Linked DNA regions of Homo sapiens: region 2 is linked to region 1. The links are contacts of gene promoters, found by promoter capture Hi-C in blood cells and fetal thymus (Javierre and others, 2016). All regions are on one chromosome and are shown on one strand. Each heading gives the region's core, a stretch centred on a gene start or on the middle of the fragment in contact. The rest is flanking DNA. Distances are from core to core; before and after follow the strand shown.

Region 1 (4,884 bases), core at 1,521-4,020:
TAGTGTTTGTTTTTGTAACTTCTGTTTTTCTCTTGGTGTATCAGTTTGAGAAGCTGCTGCTGACGCATCTTTAAGCTCACTGGTGTTCTCCTCGGCAGTCTCAGTCTACTTGTCAGCTCGGCAAGGGCATTTCTGTTACATTGTTTTTGACTTTTAATATATCTTTTAATTTTTTTTTTTTTTCTGAGACGGAGTCTCGCTCTGTCACCCAGGCTGGAGTGCAGTGGCGCAATCTTAGCTGATTGCAAGTTCCGCCTCCTGGGTTCACGCCATTCTCCTGCCTCGGCCTCCCAAGTAGCTGGGACTATAGGCGCCCATCACCATGCCCGGCTAAATTTTGTATTTTTAGTAGAGATGGGGTTTCACCGTATTAGCCAGTATGATTTCGATCTCCTGACATCGTGATCCGCCCACCTTGGCCTCCCAAAGTGCTGGGGTTACAGGCATGAGCCACTGTGCCCGGCCTTCATTTTTTTTCTTAAAGTGGACCCCTCTCTGCTTCTATTACCCATTTGTCCTTGCCAATGTCCTTGTCAATATTCAGAGATGTTTGGTCTTGATGTTGTCAACTTTTTCCACCAGAGCCCTTAACATATTAGTCATAGTTATTTTAAATTCCATGTCTGGTAATTTCAGCATCTGTGTCATGTCCCAGGCTGGCTCTGATGCTCCTTCTGACTGACTTTTTTTTTTCTTTTTTGAGACAGAGTCTCGCTCTGTCACCCAGGCTGGAGTGCAATGGCACGATCTCAGCTCACTACAGCCTCCGCCTCCTGGGTTCAAGCGATTCTCATGCCTCAGCCTCCCAGTAGCTGGGATTATAGGCGCGTGCCACCACGCCTGGCTAATTTTTGTATTTTTAGTAGAGACGAGATTTCACCATGTTGACCAGGCTGGTTTCGAACTCCTGACCTCGGGTGATCCGCCCGCCTCAGCCTCCCAAAGTTCTGGGATTACAGGCGTGAGCCACTGTGCCCGGCTCCTGACTGTGACTTTTCTTATCTTTTTTTCATGCCTTGTTGTTTTTCTGGAAAGCCAATCAGGATGTACTAGATAACAGAAACCGAGGTAAATAGGTATTAGGGTGAGGATTTATGTTACTCTGGCTGGGGCTGGGCTGTGTTTGACATTTTCTGTGGCTGTAGGAGCCCAAACCTCATGGCTGTGGCCCAGGCTCTGTGTCACTTCCACCTCTGTACACTCATCTGGAGCCCTGTGTTGATGTGTGACTATCACCCAGTTCTGAGTCCCAGCTGGGAAGTAGGCGCCATCGTGCCCTCCGATTCCATCCTGGCTCTGCCTATTCCCAGCTGTCTGTGCAGGAAGCCGTTGCAGGCCGCATTTCCCACCCTAGCAGCCCTCTGCTAGGTTCAGCCAATGAAAGCCACAGGTGGGAGTTGGAGGGGAAGTGGCAGGGAGAAGCCGGGGTATTTCTCCTCCTCTGTCTGTGCAGAATCTCTGACAGTGGCTATCTCCAGCTGTGGCCAGACAGGCCTTGTGAGGGTCCAGCTTTGACAAGGTGACCATAGCTCCTTGGCTCCAGTAACATCTGCTCTTCCTGCATCAAGGACCTGGGGACTGTTCCTACTGTTGCTGATCTCAAGGTTACTTCACTGAGCCCTGTATGGCTTCTTAGCCTCTTTGGCTTCAAGTCCCTGCGTTAAATTCCCCGTGTTTCAAATACTCAGAGATGTTTGGCTGTGCGGAGACCCTGACTCTTACACTGCACCTGTTCAGGCCAGAGCCACAGACCTCTGAGTGCTCCAGCCCTGCCGCATCTCATCCACCCCCAGCTCTGCCAGGAGCATGGGCCCAAAGACAGAAACATGATCCCCCAGGACAGTCCAAAGAGACCTGCAGAGGACGGATGTGTGCGTTGGGGCCATGAAGATGGAGTAGGAGCTCACTGGACAGAGAAGATGGGGAAGGACACTCCAGGGAGAAGCAAACGCTGAGGTCCACTTGAGAAAAATGCCTGGGTGGTTTTGGTGCTGTGAGATTCTAGGGTAGGTGAGACAGTGTGTGTGTGTTTGTCTGTGTGGGTGGTTTTGGTGCCATGAGATTCTGGGGTAGGTAAGACAGCGTGTGTGCGTCTGTATGTGTGTGGGGGGGTGGGGCGGGGTTGGGTCTGAATCTCCAGCGGGGGCAGCGGAACAAAGGGCTGGATGCCCATCCCAGGAGGTAGATTCATCAGTGCTCCCTATGCGAGAGTGGAAGTGGGGAGCCCCAGTGGGTCCTGGGCTGCAGGAGAATCCGCTGCCCCAGGAGCAGAGACTGGGAAGAAGCCCACAGTAAGGGCAAAGGGTGGACTGCGGAGACTGCTCCGTCCTCCCTCCCCACCCCTACGCCAGGTTTCACTTCTCCCTGAGAGTCCTGGGGCAACACCCCCTGTTCTTTCCCTCGCACCCCCATTTTTAAAATGTTACGTGGGAGCTTTCGGGGACGGGCTGCGGGCATCCGTTTCCCTAGCCCAGTGGGAGGTGGAACCGAAGCCCAGGAGTCCAGGCCTCTGGCCCTGCGCCTCCCTGGCTAAAGAGCGCCCTGTGGGGAGGAAGCAGGGCCCCAGGCGGAACCGGGAAAACACACCGGGGCTTTAAACAGACCGGGCCACTCCCATCGAATTTGGAAAGCGGTTAAAAGAGGTCGTGCCGCATTCTGCGCCGCGTCCCTCTTCCTTCAGTCCCGCCGAGTGTCCCCGACCAGAGGTGACCTCCTAGAAGGGGAGGTCCCCAAACTCGAGGCCCTGCGTGTAGGGAAGGGGAGCGCCCGCCCCTTCCCTGCCGCCGCGAGCGCCCCGGGAGGGGACCGGGGCTGCCGTCCCTCCGCCTCTTCCCCCGCGGGGCGTAGCGATGGCCCGGGCCAGGGCCGGGGCGCTGCTGGCGCTTTGGGTGCTCGGGGCCGCCGCGCATCCGCAGTGCCTGGACTTCAGGCCGCCCTTCCGGCCGACGCAGCCGCTGCGCCTCTGCGCGCAGTACTCGGACTTCGGCTGCTGCGATGAGGGGCGCGACGCCGAGCTGACCCGCCGCTTCTGGGCCCTGGCGAGCCGCGTGGACGCCGCCGAGTGGGCCGCGTGCGCCGGCTACGCGAGGGACCTGCTGTGCCAGGTGAGCGGGCGCGCGGCCACCGGGCGGGGCGGGGCGCGGGAGGCCGAGTCCTGGAGCAGAGATCGGAACCCCGCGGGGGCGAGGGCCAAGAGTGGGCGGCGGACTCGGGAACTCTAAGCCCCAACAGGGAGTCATTTGGCACGGGGCGGGGAGACCGCGCATCCCAGGACGACTCTTGGCTTTGCCATTCATTAGTTTTGTGACTTGGGCCTTCTCGGGGCCTCAGTTTCCCCTCCTGAAGCAGGAAGGACGGACGGACGGACAGATGATGTCATCATTTCCTCAGAGGTTGGGGGCTCTTCTGCCCCAGTCCCCTGGAGTCGACCCCTCAGCGTCCCACCCCGAGCAGCTGCACCCTTGTCGGGGTACCAAGGTGGAGAGGCATCTGTCCCGGTCAGTGCTCCTTTGTGTTGTCCCCGGGGCAGTGAAAGCAGGGGGCCCTGGCGTGGGCGTGGTCAACGTGTGGCCCGGGTTTGTTGAGGGGGTTGGGGCCACTGTCCCCCACGAGCGTCTCACCCCCATCCTGATGCCCTTGCCACTTCCGCCACCACCTCTGTGGGTGCTGTGCCCTCTCCTGGGGATGGCGCCCTGGCCTGCAGAAGCTCTCTCAAGACTGAGCGACAGCTCTTTGTTGAAGCCCCTGGGCCCCCCATCTTCCCTCTGAGGGTGGAGCCCCTGCTTCTGTGCACACCTGGTGGTGCCACCGCTATTTGTTTTCCTCTTGTGGGAGTCTGAGGCCCCAGGGCCTGACCACACCCAAGTGGGCAAATGTTGCCTGGCTGAATGCAGAAATGGAGCAGGACGGGCAGCCCCAAGGCATTCCTGCCTCAGCATCTGGGCAGTGAGAGGCCTGGGGTGGAGAGGCCCCAGGGGCCAGGGCCGTGTCCCAGCCTTCGGCCAGCAGGGGCAGGTGGTGTGGGGAAGGGCAAGAAGGCTGACTTGGAGTTGGAGTTTGATCCTGGCTCTGTCACTTCCCCAGCTTCGTGACCTGGGCAGGTCACTGCTGCACCTCACAATATCTTTAAAATGAAGCTGAGTATGGTGGCTTATGCCTGTAATCCCAGCACTTTGGGAGGCCAAGGTGGGCAGATCACTTGAGGTCAGGAGTTCGAGACCAGCCTGGCCAACATGGCGAAACTCCATCTCTACAAAAATACAAAAATTAACTGGGCATGTTGGGGAGCTCCTGTAATCCCAGCTACTCGGGAGGCTGAGGCAGGAGAAGCACTTGACTCTGGGAGGCAGAGGTTGCAGTGAGCCAAGATTGAGCCACTGCACCCCAGCCTGGGCAACAGAGCAAGACTCCGTCTCAAAAATATAATATAATATAATATGATATGATATGATATGATATGATATGATATGATATGATATAATATAATATAATATAATATAATATGATATAATATGATACATAAAATAAATAAAATAAAACCTTAACCACCCCCCTGGGTGGCCATGCAGATTAAATGCCACATACTAGGGGCTCGGTAAGTGTTTGCAGTTGGATTTCTCGAGGGCTTCCTTGGCCCTCACTGGCTGCCCAGCCCTGGGAAGGGTCCAGGTGAGGCTTGGAGCCCGAATCAAGGAAGACTCAGAGGCAGGCAGGGACTTGCCCAGTGGTCGCACAGCCCAGCGGTGGTTGAGGTGGGGACATGGACCACACTCGCTGAAGCGAGCTCATATCTTAGGTGGGAAGCAGTAGACTCTGGGAGGATGAGGAGGGGGCCCTGGGGAGCTCCAGAATGCAACAGAGGGTGGGCTGGCCACCTTTAGGTGG
Region 2 (4,884 bases), core at 657-3,156, 3.2 Mb before region 1:
ATCATGGGAGCTGTCAGTATACAGTGGGTACTTAAATCCTTGGGACTGGATGACATCAACTACTGAATGAATATGGAGAAGAGATAGGGGCCTGAGGACTGAGTCTTGGAACCCTCCAATATTGGAGGTTATAGGGAAATGGGAAGGAATTAGGAAAGGAGGTTGAGAAGGGTGGGCAGGAAGCAGGAGAGGAAATAAGAGAAAAGTAAATAATTATTAAAAAAAATATTTTTGGCCGACTCACGCCTGTAATCCCGGCACTTTGGGAGGCCAAGGCAGGCGGATCACAAGGTCAGGAGATCAAGACTATCCTGGCTAACACGGAGAAACCCCGTCTCTACTAAAAATACAAAAAATTAGCCGGGCATGGTGGCGGGAGCCTGTGGTCCCAGCTACTCGTTAGGCTGAAGTAGGAGAATGGTGTGAACCGAGGAGGCGGAGCTTGCAGTGAGCCGAAATTGCACCACTGCACTCCAGCCTGGGTGACAGAGCGAGACTCCATCTCAAAAAAAAAAAAAAAAAAGTTTTTAAAAAGAAAGAATGACAAATTGTGTCAGATACTGCAGATAATCAACTAAGATGAAACCTACAAATTGACCGCTAAATTTTTTGGCACTAGGTAGGACAAAAGTCTAACAGCCGCAGGTTCAAGAGGAACAGCTGGAGGGGAATTGAAGACAATGAGAACAGAGAAATATTTCAAGGAATTTTCCTGTAAAAGGAGGGGGGTGCAAAGAAAGAAGGCGGAGTTAAAGGATAAAGTGTAGTCAAGAGAGGTTGGTTGAACTGATTTTTAATTTTTATTTGATTTATTTATTATGTATTTATTTATTTAAAGAAGGAGTCTTACTCTTTCACCCAGGCTGGAGTGCAGTGGTGCAATCTCAACTCACTGCAATCTCCACCTCCTGGGTTCAAGCAGTTCTCCTGCCTCAGCCTCCCGAGTAGCTGGGATTACAGGTGTGTGCCACCATGCCCAGCTAATTTTTGTATTTTTAGTAGAGACAGGGTTTCACCATATTGGCCAGGCTGGTCTTGAACTCCTGACTTCGTGATCCGCCCGCCTCAGCCTCCAAAGTGCTGGGATTACAGGCGTGAGCCACCGTGCCCGGCCTCGAACTGATTTTTTTAATACAAGAGATATGACAGTTGCAGAGGAGAAGCTCAAGGAAGCTCTTACTCATTGTCCATTCTCAGCTACTTCTCACCTACCTGCTCACTGAATCTTGGCATTCGCAGGCCTCGGCCCTAGACCTTTTTTCTTCACCCTCTGCTCTCTCTCCCTTGGTCTGTTTATTCCTATGACTGATACCAATGACTCAAACTTCAGTCTCCAGCGAGGCTCTCTCTCCTAAGTTCTAGCTCTGTAGGTCCAGCTGCCTACTCAGCACCTCAACTTGGATGTCTTTCCCAAATCCAAACTATACCTACAGTCATCCCCAAACCTGCTCCTCCTCCAAGGCCCCATCTCAGAAAATGGGGTAACCCTCCAACCAGCTACATGATCAGAATCCAACTCCTCCCTCCTTACTGCAAACCAAAAAGTTTCTGAGACAGGTCTCAATCAATTTAGAAGTTTATTGTGCCAAGGTTAAGGATGCACGCCCAGGAGATAGGCCTGTGCCTTTCTCCAAAGATGACTTTGAGTGCTTCAATATTTAAAGGGAAAAGGGTAGATATTAGAGAAAGAGGAAGAAATTTTTTAAAGATGTGGGTAAGCCAGGCATGGTGGCTGATGCCTATAATCCCAGTAAAGCACTTTCGGAGGCCAGTGTGAGTGGATGGCTTGAACCCAGGAGTTTGAGACCAGCCTGGGCAACATGGTGAAACCCTGCATCTGCAAAAAATAAATAAAAGGTGTGGGTAGATAAGAGGCAAGCGGGCACATTCTTTTGAGTCTTTGATCAGCTGTTCGACATGAGGGAAGGGTAGAGGAATAGTCACTTATGCATTTATCTAGCTCAGCGAATCTGCATTTTTATGTAAGATAAAATAGACATAGGGCCGAGGAAGCAATCAGATAGGCATTTGTGTCAGGTGAGCCTAGGGATGACTTTGAGTTCTGTCCTTGTCCTGTACCTGTGAAGATAAGCTGTCAATTTACATTGTCAGGGTGAAATTCAACAGAACTGTTTTCGGGTAAAGCTCTTGGGGCCTACAGATAATTTCATAGTGGGCAAATTGTGAGGAAGGTATGAGGCCAGGCATGGTGGTTCACGCCAGTAATCCCAGCATATTGGGAGGCTGAGGCGGGTAGATCACCTGAGGTCAGGAGTTCGAGACCAGCCTGGCCAACATGGTGAAATCCCATCTCTATTAAAAATACAAAAATTAGCCAGGTGTGGTGGCACATGCTTGTGATCCCAACTATTCGGGAAGCTGAGGCAGGAGAATCACTTAAACCTGGGAGGCAGAGGTTGCAGTGAGCTGAGATCCTGCCACTGCACTCCATCCAGCCTGGGTGACACAGCAAGACTCCGTCTCAAAAAAAAAAAAAAAAAAAAGAAAACAAAATAAAATCTTTGAATGAGAGACAGGTTTGCTTTATGTAGTTCCTAGCTTGACTTTTCCCTTTGGCTTAGTGATTTTGGGGTCCCAAGGTTTATTTTCCTTTCACATTACCCATCATAAAATTCCCAGTTACTACAGTCAGCCTCCTCAATGTCTCCCTTCTCTCCATCCCCACTCCCTGCACTTCCCACCTCCAGGCTAAGCTACCCTATTTCGCCTGCACACCTGCCATCACCCCTCTGTCCCCACTGGACTCTCCTTCCCGCCACTTCTCCACAAGGCAACAAAAGCAAGCCTGCTGGTGTCACATCACTGCTTAGAACCCTTCAATACTTTCTGAAAGTCCAAAATATCTTACAAGACCCAGTGGTCTACTGTGACCCCTACCCCTACCTCTTTCACTCTTAACAACAATTCAAAATAATCTAATATGTGACACTTAAACAGTACTCATCATGTCTGTTTGGTTACTGAAATACTTAATGAGAAGAAAAGATGAGGATTTGGACTCTGAGGATCGGGGTTCCAGTCCAAGCTCTCACAAGTGTATCCTCCTGCATGCTACTTATCCGCTAAGCATTTCACCCCTGGACTGATGGTACTTATTTCCCCTCACCTCATCCCTACTGGTGGGGGTAATTTTAAATTTTAATTTGTCTTTTTGTGAGAATTAAGACATCATGCATGTGAAAACATTTCTTCTCTATGTGAATGCCATGCGTATAGCTACTAAATACGGCTGAGAGGTTGTAGATTTCTTGAAAAGTATTTCAGTCCCAGGGCTACACATTATTTCTCTTGGCAGAATTTGATTCAGTCCCAGGGCTACACATTATTTCTCTTGGCAGAATTTGATTCAGTCCCAGGGCTACACACTATTTCTCTTGGCAGAATTTGATCCTAAATCTCATCAGGGCTGATTTATAAAACACCCCCTAGAGGAAATTACTTAAGCAGATAGCTAGGCCTTTCAGTTGCCTCTGACTGTAGACTTATGTGTGAGCTGTAATAGCCATCCACATATAACTGGGGGACATGATTTTGCTTTTCTTCCTTTCAGATGGCTTGGTTGGGCGAGATTCCTGCATTACCAGTTTTTGGCGATGGAACAAATGTAATTCCAACAATCCATGTTCTTGATCTAGCAGGGTAAGCATTCGCCCAGAGACGTGACCTTCACAGAATTGGTTAATGTGTTTGTTTGTAGCCTAATACTTTTTGAGCATTTGCCTAGTGCTAAGACCCTTACATGGATTATTGTGTTCATTCTTCGTAACAACCCTATGCAGAAGGTACCGTCTTCTCCATTTTGCATCTAATGAAATAGTGCCCACTGTTCAAAAGTTCTACATTTCTGGTGACAAGTTCAGGTTCATCTCTTAGAAACTATCGACAGAATAGCAATGCCCTCCAATTTTGGAAAAGAAAGAACTTGGTGTGTACATTCTGAGGACGTAGTTTCTTATTCCTTTGTCCCAGATGAGATTAATATGTCTAACCCGTCAACTTAAATTCTAGAATTCAAATGGAAAACTGTAAACCTGAAGCTTTTTCCTTCTTTGACAGTTGTAGGTAAAGTTGACATATGTTTTTTATACTCACAGAGCATCTAAACCCTGTATTCAGACAGGTCCAGAAACCCTTCTCTTCCTTTGAAGACCCTGACTTAAACGTGAGGTCAATGAGTTGGTTCACTGTGTTTGTGGTTCATCAGCTCCAGCTTCCGGGGACTTCATTCTGTCACCCCTGTGGCACATCCCCAGAAAGGAGCAATTTCTGCACTTCCCTGAGGTTCTGGTTTTCAGATTCCCACTCTTTCTCTCATCCACTGGCCACTAGTAAATTAGTCACAATCTCAGATAAATTTCTAGACTTACTGGGAAATGAAGGAAGTTTAAACTTCAGGGCCACACCCCTGAGCAGATCCCTTTCCAAGACCCTGAACCTAATTTTTATTATTTTTCTTAAAGAAGGATCCTATGAGTCAGGGATATCCAATCTTTCGGCTTCCCTGGGCCACATTGGAAGATTTGTCTTGGGCCACACATAAAATACACTAACACTAACGATAGCTGATGAGCTTTAAAAAAAATAACAAAAAAAACTCATAATTTTTTTTTTTGAGATGGAGTCTCACTCTGTTGCCCAGGCTGGAGTGCAGTGGCACAATCTCGGTTCACCGCAAGCTCTACCTCCCAGGTTCATGCCATTCTCCTGCCTCAGCCTCCCAAGTAGCTGGGACTACAGGCACCCGCCACCATGCCTGGCTAATTTTTTGTATTTTTTTAGTAGAGATGGGGTTTCACCATGTTAGCCAGGATGGTCTCCATCTCCTGACCTCATGATCCACCCGCCTCAGCCTCCCAAAGTGCT

What was found. The method cuts DNA at HindIII sites, captures the fragments that hold promoters and counts their contacts. A CHiCAGO score of 5 or more calls a contact.
Region 2: a fragment that was not itself captured here is called in contact with the fragment with the promoter of HHIPL1 in region 1 in 1 of 17 cell types (naive CD8 T cells); the score reaches 7.2 in naive CD8 T cells.

Annotation. Positions count from the first base shown.
Region 1 is chr14:99,642,359-99,647,242 of GRCh38, forward strand. HHIPL1 (HHIP like 1) reads left to right here and starts at 2,771. Exons shown (of 9, transcript NM_001127258.3): 1 at 2,771-3,104. The coding sequence starts at 2,850. The HindIII fragment of the contact is 13,444 bases long and covers 1-4,884 here.
Region 2 is chr14:96,439,159-96,444,042 of GRCh38, forward strand. It overlaps AK7 (adenylate kinase 7), which reads left to right. Exons shown (of 18, transcript NM_152327.5): 7 at 3,572-3,660. Among named protein-coding and RNA genes, the nearest start is that of AK7, 49 kb to the left of the region's middle. The HindIII fragment of the contact is 4,300 bases long and covers 1-4,056 here.